5 separate regions of the Homo sapiens genome follow, and regions 2, 3, 4 and 5 are each linked to region 1. The links are contacts of gene promoters, found by promoter capture Hi-C in blood cells and fetal thymus (Javierre and others, 2016). All regions are on one chromosome and are shown on one strand. The core of a region is centred on a gene start or on the middle of the fragment in contact, and the rest is flanking DNA. Distances in the headings are between cores, read along the strand shown. Region 1 holds the start of ATPSCKMT (ATP synthase c subunit lysine N-methyltransferase). Region 2 overlaps MTRR (5-methyltetrahydrofolate-homocysteine methyltransferase reductase). Region 3 overlaps MTRR (5-methyltetrahydrofolate-homocysteine methyltransferase reductase). Region 4 has its middle 47 kb from the start of MTRR. Region 5 has its middle 67 kb from the start of MTRR.

Evidence for each region. Contacts are between HindIII fragments. The CHiCAGO score rates a contact against its expected background, and 5 or more counts as called.
Region 2: a fragment that was not itself captured here is called in contact with the fragment with the promoter of ATPSCKMT in region 1 in 11 of 17 cell types (naive CD8 T cells, activated CD4 T cells, megakaryocytes and 8 more); the score reaches 15.2 in naive CD8 T cells.
Region 3: a fragment that was not itself captured here is called in contact with the fragment with the promoter of ATPSCKMT in region 1 in 2 of 17 cell types (endothelial precursors and activated CD4 T cells); the score reaches 14.0 in endothelial precursors.
Region 4: a fragment that was not itself captured here is called in contact with the fragment with the promoter of ATPSCKMT in region 1 in 1 of 17 cell types (endothelial precursors); the score reaches 8.0 in endothelial precursors.
Region 5: a fragment that was not itself captured here is called in contact with the fragment with the promoter of ATPSCKMT in region 1 in 1 of 17 cell types (endothelial precursors); the score reaches 8.0 in endothelial precursors.

Annotation. Positions count from the first base shown.
Region 1 is chr5:10,248,598-10,251,188 of GRCh38, forward strand. ATPSCKMT (ATP synthase c subunit lysine N-methyltransferase) reads right to left here and starts at 1,291. Exons shown (of 5, transcript NM_199133.4): 1 at 1,261-1,291. The coding sequence starts at 1,276. CCT5 (chaperonin containing TCP1 subunit 5) reads left to right here and starts at 1,683. Exons shown (of 11, transcript NM_012073.5): 1 at 1,683-1,848. The coding sequence starts at 1,744. RefSeq lists silencers at 1,061-1,180, 1,191-1,250, 2,001-2,070, 2,141-2,280. The HindIII fragment of the contact is 6,282 bases long and covers 1-1,652 here.
Region 2 is chr5:7,879,113-7,881,703 of GRCh38, forward strand. All of the region lies in intron 5 of MTRR (5-methyltetrahydrofolate-homocysteine methyltransferase reductase), which reads left to right. Among named protein-coding and RNA genes, the nearest start is that of MTRR, 11 kb to the left of the region's middle. The HindIII fragment of the contact is 2,641 bases long and covers 1-2,591 here.
Region 3 is chr5:7,898,232-7,900,822 of GRCh38, forward strand. MTRR (5-methyltetrahydrofolate-homocysteine methyltransferase reductase) reads left to right here. Exons shown (of 15, transcript NM_002454.3): 15 at 1,683-2,591. The coding sequence ends at 1,827. Among named protein-coding and RNA genes, the nearest start is that of MTRR, 30 kb to the left of the region's middle. The HindIII fragment of the contact is 1,091 bases long and covers 763-1,853 here.
Region 4 is chr5:7,914,472-7,917,062 of GRCh38, forward strand. No RefSeq gene overlaps it. Among named protein-coding and RNA genes, the nearest start is that of MTRR, 47 kb to the left of the region's middle. The HindIII fragment of the contact is 1,623 bases long and covers 486-2,108 here.
Region 5 is chr5:7,934,992-7,937,582 of GRCh38, forward strand. No RefSeq gene overlaps it. Among named protein-coding and RNA genes, the nearest start is that of MTRR, 67 kb to the left of the region's middle. The HindIII fragment of the contact is 1,073 bases long and covers 754-1,826 here.

The DNA of each region.
Region 1 (2,591 bases), core at 41-2,540:
GAGTGCAGTGGCGCGATTATAGCGCACTGTAAACTGAACTCCTGGGCTCCACCCATCCTCCTGCCTCAGCCCCAGAGTAGATGGGAACACAGTCGCCAAGTCTGTTCTTGAGTTTCAGGACAGGGTCAAATGTTATAGTGCATGTATTCATTTCAGCACTTATTGAGTGCCTAATAAAGTCTGGGAATAATACAACTTTATTAGTTAAGTCCCTGCCCATGGCAGTAGGGGAGAAGCAAGGATGGAAACCCTCAACAAATAAATCTAAACCTATCAAATATTAAGTCATGATCTTGGAGGGCGGGGAGGAAGGCAGCATAAGAGATTTAGAGGACAGCTGCGGTTGCCAAGATCTTTCTGAGGCAGCATAATACAGGGCTTAAGAGTGAGACCTGCCGGGCACCGCGGTGGCTCAGGCCCAACACTTGGGGAGACCTAGACGGGTACATCACTTGAGGTCAGCCGTTCGAGACCAGCCTGGCCACTACGGCGTTAACACCGTCTCTACTAAAAATACAAAAATTAGCGAGCGTGGTGGTTCTGTGCCTGTAGTCCCAGCTGCCTGGGAGGCTGAGGCACGAGAATCACTGGAACCCGGGAGGCGGAGGCTGCAGTGAGCCGAGACCGCGCCACTGCACTCCAGCCCGGGCTACAGTCTTGTCTCAAAAAAAAAAAAAAAAAAAAAGAGTGTGGGACCCATTGCATCAGGCTGTGTAACTGTTTCTTACTAGCTGTATACCAGTGGCAAGTTACTGAACCATTTGTGCAAAATGTTAATTTATTTACCAACACTGTGTTCAGCTTGCCAGGCACCGTTCTCCTTGAATCTCACAGCAGCCCTGTGAGTAGGCACTACTGTTACCACCGTCACTTTGCAGACAGGGAACCCGAGGGACAAAGAAGTTAAGGGATTTCCTCAAAGCCACAGCTAGGAAGAGCGGCAGAACTGCGATTCCAATCCATCAGTGTGCCTCCACTATCCCTATTCCTTAAGATCGTGCCAAAGGCTGAGTCACTTGCACTAAGTAGCCTAGAACAGTCTCTGGGGAAACGCGCCCGCCGACAAGGATCGCCAGAACCGGCGCGGGCACCGCGCGGCGACCAGGAGCTCTGGTCACCGAAGGCCAGGCTGGAGGCCAGAGCAGCCGCCCGCACCCGGTCACCGCCTCGACAGTGGAGACCTCAGCTGACCGCGAGCCCCCGGCCCGCCCGCACCCCTTCTCATGCCCCCAGGAACCCGCCAAGCCGCTCCAGCCTCACCTCCTCCTCCCTCCATCGCGAGATTTCCAACAGCGTTTTTAAAAAAAAAAAAAAAAAAAAAAAAAAAAAAAAAAAAACCGGAAATGGGTCCTACCATCTTCTCGGAGCCGGAGTGCGAAGAAATAAAGAAATAGTGCTTTAAGTCAATGAATTCCTCCTTGGGACCCACTATCGAGAAACTATCAGTGGTAACGTTTTAAAAAATGACAAATTCAATCTGCTCTTGACTTGTGTGTCCTAAGATTTCCACTAAGTGTCTTCAAACCTCCCCCTCCCCGGCTTCCTGGATAATAGAAGTTCCCGAAGGCCGCCGATTCCAGAAGATACTGTCTGGCGTGAAATTAGTCTCAGTAGAAACATAAGTCCCGCGCGTCTTGTGCTGCGCGTGCGCAAGCTTTTGGGCCCTCCCGAGAAAGGGAAGTGCATTCTCGCTTCCGTAGCGGTCTCCGCCGGTTGGGGGGAAGTAATTCCGGTTGTTGCACCATGGCGTCCATGGGGACCCTCGCCTTCGATGAATATGGGCGCCCTTTCCTCATCATCAAGGATCAGGACCGCAAGTCCCGTCTTATGGGACTTGAGGCCCTCAAGGTAATGGCACAGGGACCTGCTCGCGGTGGGCTAAGGGGAGGTGGCCGAGGCCGTGGCTCTGCGCCTGCGCGAGTTGAGGAGCGGCTCTGCCATGTGCTCCCCGGAAAGGTCGAGAATCTCCGTCTCCCTGCGGTCTCCGGCCGCTCAGCCCGCTTACTGAGCTCGGGAGACGCCGGCGCCTAATCCTGGGCTCGGAATGTGGGGGCCAGCCAGGCTGGGCCGCCAGCGCCCTTCGGAGCTGGGTGGGGCCGCTCAGTCCGGTCGCCCGCGGGAGCAAAGCGGGACCGCCTCCCCGCCCGGCTCCTCCAGCCTGACGGCCGCGTGGGACTGCGCTCCAGTGGGAGGGCGCCGGGGAGATGCTCTGTCACCTGTCGGTTAAGGCGCTGCTGCTTAACCTTTCGCTGGTCCACCCGCAACGGCCCTTCCGTTTTCTTTGTCACTCGTAAAGGTGTGGTCACTTAACAGGGTATTTCATTTCTGAGTGCTTTTTTGCCCACCCTTGAGGAAAAATAGCGAAGAGTGAAAAACGGACGCACATAACCGTAATACAAGGTGGTGTGCAGTGAGAAGGACAGCTACGGAGAGGGTGCACATAAGCGTGGTGCTGGAGGACAGCTTTAGATCGGGGTGAGAGGTAGCATTCTAGGGAGAGGAAACGGTAGAAGTAAAGGCTTGGGCAAGAATGCGCATGGCACGTTGTAGAATGGAAGAGCCATCCGGTTTTAATGGAGCACTGACTTCTT
Region 2 (2,591 bases), core at 62-2,561, 2.4 Mb before region 1:
GTAAGTATGATTTTGTGTATAAACAACTATGGGCTATTGTTTTTGCACTTGTACTTCATTATTTTGTGAATTGTTTAAGTGAGATAATTGCAGTAAGTGTATCTCAGTCTGGTTTGGGAACAGACACAACTTATGCCTGGACTGGTGGGAGCAGAGTGCAGTGTTGCACCACAGACAGGATCAGTTCATGGCAGCGGGGATAGAGATTAATCATTAATCTGACTAGGAGTTTTAAATTAGCCGGAAGATCTGTTAAGAGTTTATGGGTTTTTTCCGGGAGGCGGAGGTTGCAGTGAGCCAAGATTGCGCCACTGCACTCCAGCCTGAGCGACAGAGTAAGACTCCGTCTCAAAAAAAAAAAAAAAAAAAAAAAGTTTCTGGGTTTTTTCTTAATAGAAAGTGTCATTAAATAGGCTTGAGTTGTTAATAATGTAGTTAAAAGATTTAACAAATCTGAAGTACTTAAGAGAGACAATATAAATATGAAATAATATACTGAGAGAGTAAAGAATTGGGAAAAAAAGAATGTTTTGTAGGGCATCCTCTTGGGACCATTGCCTTGAGGCACAGAGGGGTTGGAAGCAGGATTGGGCACAGTGAGAAGCTGAGCTGCGATGCAGTCTCAACAAAGGCCTCAGTCAGCTCCTCTCCATATGGTACCTTTCTGCCATGTGGAAGTATTACCTCTAATAACCAGAGGGTCTTCTGGGTTGTGTGGTAGAGCGGCAGGACCTGTTAACGAGCACTGTCACTTGGATCTGCTGTAGAGCCCTCTCCTGCTCTGGGCCCCACGCAAAGCTGGTGGCCTTTTCTGTCACCTGGTATTTGGGTCTCAGCAGTCCTCCCAGGTATGGAATGTGCTACCCACAGATCCTGAAGAGACTTAGCAGTGGTTCTGCTTCTCTCTAGAAGTGAGGTACAAGGTGCACTAGTGTGGCCTTCACTTGGGAGGGGATGTCCTGACGTGCACCAAACTGTTAGAACCCTAAAAATTGTGCTGGCACTGCAGGCCCTTTAATTGCATAGGGCATGGGTCTTACCAAAGACCGCACTGTCCTGGCTACTCCTCGTTGCTCATTCAGTCTGATAGCACGATGCCCCTGATAGAGTAGGCTAGTGTGGTGCTTTGCAGGTGTTCCACATTTATTCAGACTCTTATAACAGCAGGCAGGACTTATGATAGCCCTGGGGCATAATTGTAAATTTATACATTGTTCCAGCGCAAAGTGAACTGTTTCTGATCCTCTTTAGTGATAGGGTTGGGAAGGAGCACTTTGACTAAATCATTGTCCGTGTACCTGAGGCCATGCTAGTCTACTTTGTTAAGGAAAACCAGCTTGCACGGAGGTTACAGTGGACCTGTTTCTTGTTTGAGTTTCCAGTAGTTCAGTGTCATCCCCCAGGATTTATGTGGTTTTTGCAGTGGTCAAACTGGTGAATTAAATGGAGATACGATAGAGACCATCCCCTGTGTCCTCCAGCTTTTTAAGGATGTCATTTCTCTCAGGATGCTATTTTGTTTCTCTTGTTCTATCTTGGTGTTTAGGGAGGAGGATGGCGTCAAATTCAGAGACTTCTTCTTGGCCCTCCCCATGATGATAGATCTTAACGTCATAGGCCAATAATTCGGTGTTGCCCTGTGCCAGCTGCTGAGTGGCCACTGGAGGTCCTGGGCCAGGACGCCATTTACCGCCTGGCCCCCATGTGCCTTGCTGTCATAGATGAGCTATGCTGATGCTTTGGGTCCCTGGGTAACAACATTCATTTGAACCCCCTCTTAACAGACCCTGGAATGTTTGCACATTCCCCTTAGCCCAGTGTACATTTCCCCTTTGGGAGAAGGACTGCAGAAGCCATTGTCAAGTACAGTTTCTATAGTGTCTCACAGTCCCTCCTCCTAGGGACCTCTTCTCTCCTACAGTCAGTGGGTTGCAGGTCTGGAAACAGGGCAAAGGATCGTTTTTATTGGAGCAGCGGCCTACAGCTCCTTTTACATGCCTCCTTGATTTCTTTTCATTGTAAGGATTGATCCAGTGCCTTTGTGGGCTGCCCATTTTTTACATCTGTGTTCTGCCCTCCTCAATTTAGGACCTCAGCTGTGTTGTGTGCATTCTCTCCTAGCTCCTGTGGGGGCATAGTGCTCTGTCGTATACTTTCTTAGGGGTTAGTCCCTTACCTTCCTTAGCTAGCCCAGTGCTTTAGTGGCCGAGTGTGTCGCAACAACCCCAGTTATTGGTCTAGCAACCAGAAGAGGGGATGGGGTGTGGTAGTGGGGGTACAGGCATGTGCTGTGGGCAGAGGTCCTTACACCATCCAGATGCGAGAAGGGAGTTCTTACTCTTCATGGGAGGGACTGGCCACATCTGCAGGCTCAAAGAGTTCAAGGGAATCTGGGTAGGAAGATTTTTAAGGGAATCTGGGTAGTCAAGATTTTTAAGGCGTTCTGGGTAGTCAAGATTTTTAAGGGAATCTGAGTATTCAAGATTTTTTTTCCCAGTTAGTCCTTGGCTTTCTCTGCCTTCACTGTCATGGGCTGCATGAGATGACTGTGTCTTTCTAAGCTCCTGAGGATGTCCCCTGGCTTAGTTCTA
Region 3 (2,591 bases), core at 58-2,557, 2.4 Mb before region 1:
TCTGCATTTTGTTTGGCGAGGACAGTGTCATCGGTGGTCAAATACAGGCTGGAGTTTTAGAGATGCACCTCTAAATAGTAGAGGCAGAGTTCATTGTACAGATCACAGATATCTGGTCATTGAGAACTTGGAGAATATCTTAAATGTCCAGACTCCTAAAACATTATTCCAGAAATAGCTCCTCCCAATCACTGGTGCTTTACTTTGTCACATTTGTGAAATGCACTTGGAAGCATTAATAGCAGTGGTCAGAGGGCTCAGAAGGAAACCCTGGGGCACTTGAACATTGATCGTCCGTCAGGGAAGCAGGAACAAAGTAGACAGAAGGAACAGCCACTGAAGAAGCAAAATTGTCCCAAAGCCAAGAGGGTGCTGTTTCAGAGAGGGAGCCTGTACTGCTGATGAGTCAAATGAGAAGACAGCGGAGCAGGATCTTGGGGTATAAGTTCCCTGAGAATAGTGGAGAGGAGAGCCTCTTGAGACAGGTGAGACAGACACCTCTCAAGAAATTTCACTGTGAGGGGCCAGGACATGTTCAGTTCCTAACATAGTAGAGTCTTGTCTGACACTTCGCTTCATTCAGCAAACACCTGAGTGCTGGCTAAGTGCTTGGGGCATATTCAGATGTCGATAGATACGAGGATATATTAGTTTTTCTGTTGAGGAATACCTGAGACTAAAGAAAAGAGATTTAATGGGCTCACGGTTTAGGCTGTAGAGGAAACATGGTGCCGGCACCTGCTTCTGGTGAAGACCCCAGGAAGCTTCCACTCTGACAGAAGGCAAAGGGGGAGCAGGCACCTCACACGGCAAGAGAGGGAGCAAGAGGCAGGGGGAGGTGCCACACACTCAAATAGCCAGATCTCTCAGGAACTCAGAGGGAGAACTCACTCATTACAGCGAGCATAACATCAAGCCATTCATGAGGCATCTGCCCCCATGACCCAGACGCCTCCCACCAAGCCCCACTTCTAACACTGGGAACCACATTTTAACATAAAGATTTGGAGAGGGCACACATCCAAACTGGATCAGAGGATAAGTGAGTTACACTTCCTACCCTCAAACAACTTACTCCCTGGTGAGAAAGCTACATATAAACAGACGTTTCTAACGTCGGAAGTGTTCCAGAGAGGACTGCAAGAGCACCCAGGAGGGGTACCGCCCCCTTCTTGTAAATTGAAGAGTTAAGATGTAGAAGCACTTCAAAAGGACCTGGCACATAGTAAGTCCTCAATAAAGGTGTCTGTTACTAACTGTATGTGTATAAAGACCTAGAAGTGTGCGAGAGATCTGGTTCCCTTCAGGAGCACGAGTCTACTGTGTGCTTTGAGAGTGGAGGGCAGGGAATGAGGGGTGAGCCAGCAGGTGGGTCGGAGCCAGGCAGGACCTCAGATGCTTCTCTGACACCTAGGAAATCCTTGGCCTACTGTCGGGACCTGGAGCCTGTGGAGGATTGGGAGCTGTAGAACCGTGTGGTCAGCTCTGTCTCCTAGAACAGTCACTGTAGGCAAAGGCCTGGCCTGGGCATGAGTGAGGCTGGGAGATCTGTGTGAGATGTTCTGAGAAGACGGAGGGAAGAACTATGGTGGTACAGTCAAAAGGAATTAGACTTGTGAATTAAGGAGGATTTACTAAAAATGCCTGTTTGTAAGCAGTCATCTTATTATTTTCTTTTCTAGAGATGCAAAGAATATGGCCAAGGATGTACATGATGCCCTTGTGCAAATAATAAGCAAAGAGGTTGGAGTTGAAAAACTAGAAGCAATGAAAACCCTGGCCACTTTAAAAGAAGAAAAACGCTACCTTCAGGATATTTGGTCATAAAACCAGAAATTAAAGAAAGAGGATTAAGCTTTTTTGACTGAAAGTACTAAAAGTCAGCTTTACTAGTGCCAAACCTTTAAATTTTCAAAAGAAAATTTTCTTTCAACATTTCTTGAAGGACATGGAGTGGAGATTGGATCATTTAACAATATAACAAAACTTCCTGATTTGATTTTACGTATCTTCTATCTACGCCCTTCCTGTGCCTGTGACTCTCCCCAAATTGCCCTGTTGCCTTGAGCTCTTCTGAGCTAAGGCAGCCTTCAGTCCCTATCAGCGCCTCCTTTACTTCCCAGAGAACTTCACAGAGACTCTGTCCTTCCATGCAAAGGCTTCCTGAAATAGGGAGACTGACTGAGTAGCTCATTCTTGTGACTTACAGTGCCAACATTTAAAAAAGTATGAAAATGATTTATTTTTATATGATGTATACCCATAAAGAATGCTCATATTAATGTACTTAAATTACACATGTAGAGCATATCTGTTATATGTTTATGTAACTATCAAATGGTTATTTGTTACTAAAGCTATATTTCTGATAAAAAATATTTTAGGATAATTGCCTACAGAGGGATTTATTTTTATGATGCTGGAAATATGAAATGTATTTTAAAATTTCACTCTGGCATATGATTTATCTATCACCATTACTTTTTTTTAAGTCACAATTTCAGAATTTTGGGACATTTGCATTCAATTTACAGGTACCAGTACGTACATATTTTAATAGAAAGATACAACCTTTTTATTTTCACTCCTTT
Region 4 (2,591 bases), core at 47-2,546, 2.3 Mb before region 1:
TTCTGGTTTGACTGCCAAATCAACCAAAATAAAGGCAACCAACGGATCAGGTTAATGGAGTGTCTCTGAGATGGACAGGGACCCTTCGCACTCCTGCACCAGGACAGCGCCCAAGCATCTGGAGGAATCTGCACATTCTATTGATGGCAATGAGGAATCAAATCTGTAATGCCAGGGGGCAAAGTTGGGTGGAGGCACCCTCACATTCCCATGGCACCTGCCCTTATTCCAGTTTACAATCGTGGACCTGAATCCAGTGAAGCCACTCATGGGCTGCCTTTCAGCCCCACTTGAAAGAATCCTTCTACTGGGGCTGGGAAAGAGCAGCTTGGTGACCTTTTCCAGCCTCTTGGCATCAGCTTGGGTGGGAAAGCTGGGTGGGCAGGGGAAGAGTCTCCTGAGGGTGGAGAAAATCAGGCAGAGGCACCTTAGGAGGAGCCATGTAGCTGTACAAACAGAAACATTATTGGGAGCTTCAGCTAAAAAGCTTGGACCTGTGTGTTTTTAGTGTTATATACATATGTATCCATCCATCCATCCGTCCATCCCTCCATCCAACAAATGCTCAGTGAGCCCCTGTTACAAACCTGTTCCTTGCTAGGTGCTCCACAAAGAATGCACAGTCTAGGGTGGGAGACAATTACATTAATTGATAAATTATTAGATAATAGTTAAGATAAGTCACACTGTAAACATATTGAGAATTTCTGTCCTTGTCTGTCTCTTCAGGCACTCTTATCACCACTCCTAGTCTCAATTTATTGAGACTTCAGCAACGTAAAGCTGCTTGTTTCTCCTGAAAAATATGCCACACTTTCAGGCTTCTATTCCTTTTAAATACTGTAACCAATGTTTGGAATGACTCCTATTCCCCATTTCTGCTTGTCTACTTGGCCAATTTTCCCATCCCTCAAAACTCAGCCCAGGAGAGGTTGCTTGGTGTAGCTGCCATGATTCTGGCTCATTTGGTTCCTGGCTGATTTAACCACTGCCTGTTGTTGTCACCAGACCACTAGCCAGTGACCATACTGGGTTGACACTGTTCACAGGAGGCCACCTCACTGAGCTCTAAGTTCTTTTTTGGCCTGGACTATAGCACTGCATCTTCATAATCCCTGTGAGTGGTGCACTGTGGGTTACCCAAAAATGCTTGCTGGAGAAATGGAATGAACTAATGGTGTGCTCTGGCAGCAAGGAAGATCAATTAGCCAACTCTTGTTTCCTCATCATTCCACAATCATCCATAGGTATTTCTAGTGTGTGCCAGGCCTATGCTGGGAGCTGAGGTCACTGTGGTGAGTGTAGTACCTCTCCTCACAGAGCTTTCCCTCTGACAGACGTCAAATGCAGTTATCAATAGTCACAGAACAGTACGCATATGATCGTGAGGCTTTGGGTTAAAGACCCTATGACTGTGGGAAGCCCAGGTAGAAGGGATGAAGGTGACAAGGCCCCATCCCAAGCTGTGGCAGGGTCAAGGCAGAGGCAGGGGTTAGAATAGGAGAGGGAAGGAGCCTTCAGGGAGGTGTCAGCAAACAAAGCCCTGTCCATGAAGATGAGGTTCTTTTTGCTGGTTGTAATTATCCTGCAAGTGTCTGGGATCTCAGTGGAATAAAAGGCCAGCCTCCAGACAAATGGAAATGAGTCTAGGAGATGAAGGAAGAAATAAGTGAAAAGGTTCCCAAAGCAGGCAGTTCTGCAAAGGGAGCAAACATAAAATTGAAGAGGTATATGAAGGTCTTCTTCAATTTACCTTAATAATAAAAGTATCTATTTCCTTGGCTTTCAGAATTTAGCCCTCAGGGCAGTTAAATTGGAAATGATAGCGGTATTGTGTAATGTTTACTTTGAACCACACATGTAAGAATGATTTAGGAACTGGATTCTATTACAAATGCCCACATAAACCTCTAGGGCTCCCTCATCCTGCTCACATTTCAAACAGCTTGTCTCTCCACATCACCGCAAAGCTGCTTTTCTTGGGAGAATTCATTATAAAACTCGAAGGGCAGTTTGGACGAGGGCAACCATTAGGCTAGATCACTTACAAACTGGTGTAGGTATTGGAAAATGAATGGGAATAAATACTGTTTGAAATACTACAGGGAAGCTTACAAGCCTCAGCTTCCTGGTGTGACATCATTATTGTGCATGATCCTAGAATGAGTGGGAACGTGCCCACTTAGGCTTATTTCCATAGAAATGTCATTGGATTTTTTTTTTTTTAAACCAAGGAAACTCGAATCACAAAGTTGGTTCCAAGGCTGGTTCTTACACCATCTTGACAAGCCATTCATTCACACACCATCTCAACAAGTGACATCATCTTGACAAGACCTTGATCTTCCTCTGTACATCCAGGCAGCCAAGCTGTATGAACTGGAGCTTTCCATCTATAGTCTTCTGTTTCTTAGTATGCGGGTTATACAAGTGTTAACTCAGTGTAGATTGAGAAAAAAGAAAAACTACCAGCAAATGTTCTATTGAGACAAAAAAGATATGGGAGAGTGTTTTCAAAAATTATAAAGTTCTAGGCAAATGGCTGCCTTCTTATTACTAGTATTATAACTTTTGTTAAATATTTGATCGAT
Region 5 (2,591 bases), core at 40-2,539, 2.3 Mb before region 1:
GTCAATATTTGATTACCAATCAGCAGATTATCTATGTCAGACACCAGAAAAACATTCTGAGTCCCCTGCTTCTCTGATCAGTGGGTGTGAAATGGGAGAAATAGGGTAATATTCACTTTGACCTGAGAAATGCACAGACCGTAATGTTAAATATTGGACAATGCATTGTCATGTTGGATACAATATTTGCAGACAGGGCACTATTTTAGAATTTATTTCTGCTGTGCTTCTCCATCCAGGCCATGAATAGTAATAGATTTATAGTTGATTTAAGAAATTTTTGTAACTCAATAAATACTGAACTAAAGCATTCAAATTATCTGCTTTGAAACTGTAAATTTTTGTTCTAATCCTAACTCTCTTCTTTTTGGATACTGAAAAACAATGAAGGTGATGCATTCTCCCAGCCTGATTGCCTCTCTGCAATGTCGAAGTATTGGCAGTGATTTCTAAAATAGCAATATTTTATACACTTTTTAAAATGAGCTTAATATTAAAATGAATTATACATTTCTCTGAGCAGATGGAACAATGTTTTATTCAATTTTACTATAGTTTATTTTCAGAAATTTGATATAAAAACATCAGGAATAAAAACCTGCTCTCTCCTGAAAATATGGTTCATGTAGAAAAGTGGCTTAGAGATTAATAGAAACTTAATTTAGAGACTGATATCAACTGCACAGTTACTAGTAAATGTCATTTCATATAGTCTGTTCTAAAGATCATATTAGCTCATCCACTAAAAAATCAAGCTTATTACTCATGATAAGAGTTGATATCAGATCTAGCTCAGATAAACTTATTGTACTATGTTGACAAGATAAAGCTAGCTAGTCAAGAACACTTTCACGAAAAAAGAGAAAAGTAGTACAAATTCTTTTCGCAATGCTAGTGGCAAAAAACCACTCTATGATATTTATTAAACTAAAATGTAGGTCAGACAAGAAATTGTATTCCACCTCTTATTTAATTAGTAATCAGAGGTCAGCAGTTCAAATGTGCTCCCTTTCCTTCTCAACTGTTTGGCAATTTAATGCTATGTAACGTGAAACACGTAAAATGTCTCAGTGTTAGATAAAGAGTCACAAGATAGAAGGGAGATCTGGATTCTGGAAAATCCAGACTTTCCTTCTAACCTGTTGCTAAGAAGATCACATTGCTGGCTTTCATCTCTGTAAGTGTAGACAGCTCAACTTCCTACAAGAATTTGCTAGTGCCTGTTTAAGGTGATGGTTTATCATTTCACCTGGATGTTACTGGTTTCAATTAGAAGCAGAGGATTGACTGGATGTACTTTAAAGAAAATTGATTTTATAATTCTCTTTGAATTCAGAATAGAAAATGAACAATGAACGCATCAGCACTCTCCACCGTAGTGCCAGAAGAGCTGCAGGGGGTACTTAGAATTTAGTTACAGCAGGTTAATCCAGTATTCAGCATCCCAGAATATGATGTCACTCTAATTTTACACCTTCCCAAAACAAACAAATGAATAAACAAACAACTTCCAAAACCACTGCAGTGTTTTACACTAGGAATGTCAGCATGACGCCTATGGAAATTGGAATGTGTTACTGTTTCTCTTCAGACAAGTCCATAGGTACAGAAGAAAGCAGGCACAGGTGGTGACAGCTGGCACAGATATGGTGCAGGGCTAAATGAGAGTCACCTAGAACATTGCCTGATTTTTACTTTTTAAAGTCAATTTCAAACTGCTTCACAAGTTTACAGAAGAGCTCACCCTTAGTTTTGCTTTCTCCCAGTACGGTGACTGTTGACCGACATAAAACTTGAACTTAGGCACTGTTAAAGGTAGTACACTAAGCTTCAATCTGAGCATCTAGATTCAACACTGAAACTCTATATCACCTGCAAAAATATGTGTATATTCAGTCTAATGTAGAATTCTTTGAGATGTGTGACAACACCCTTGTGTTATACCACTTCGTGTGACTTCTGAAGATATCATGACATTCTAAATGCCTCTTCCTGTGTTAAATCTCTGTTCCCTATTTTGTGATGTAACTCTTTACAATTGTTTCATTTTGTCATCGGATGTTCTCTAAAGCCAAATTCAACCCTTGATAAATGTGTGATGTCCATGGCAATAGGAAATGCGTGACAGGGTAAGCTGGCCAGGTTTTCTATTTATAAGGAGTTGGTGTCAAATTGATATGGTTTGGCTCTGTGTCCCCACCAAATCTCGTGTCAAATTGTAATCCCCAAGGTTGGACCTGGGGCCTGGTGGGAGATGACTGGATCATTGTTGCGGGGGAGGGTCCTTCATGAATCCCTTGGTGCTGTTCTCATGATGGGGCTCTCAGGAGCTCTGGTTATTTAAAAGTGTGTGGCTCCCTGCTCTCTCTCTTACTCCTGCTCTGACCATGTAAGGTATGCCTACTTCCATCCCATCACTTTGGGAAGCCAAGGTGGGCAGACCACAAGGTCAGGAGATCGAGACCATCCTGGCTAACATGGTGAAACCCTGTCTCTACTAAAAATACAAAAACATTTTCCGGGCGTGGTGGTGGGCGCCTGTAGTCCCAGCTACTCGGGAGGCTGAGGCGGGAGAATGCCGTGAACCCGGG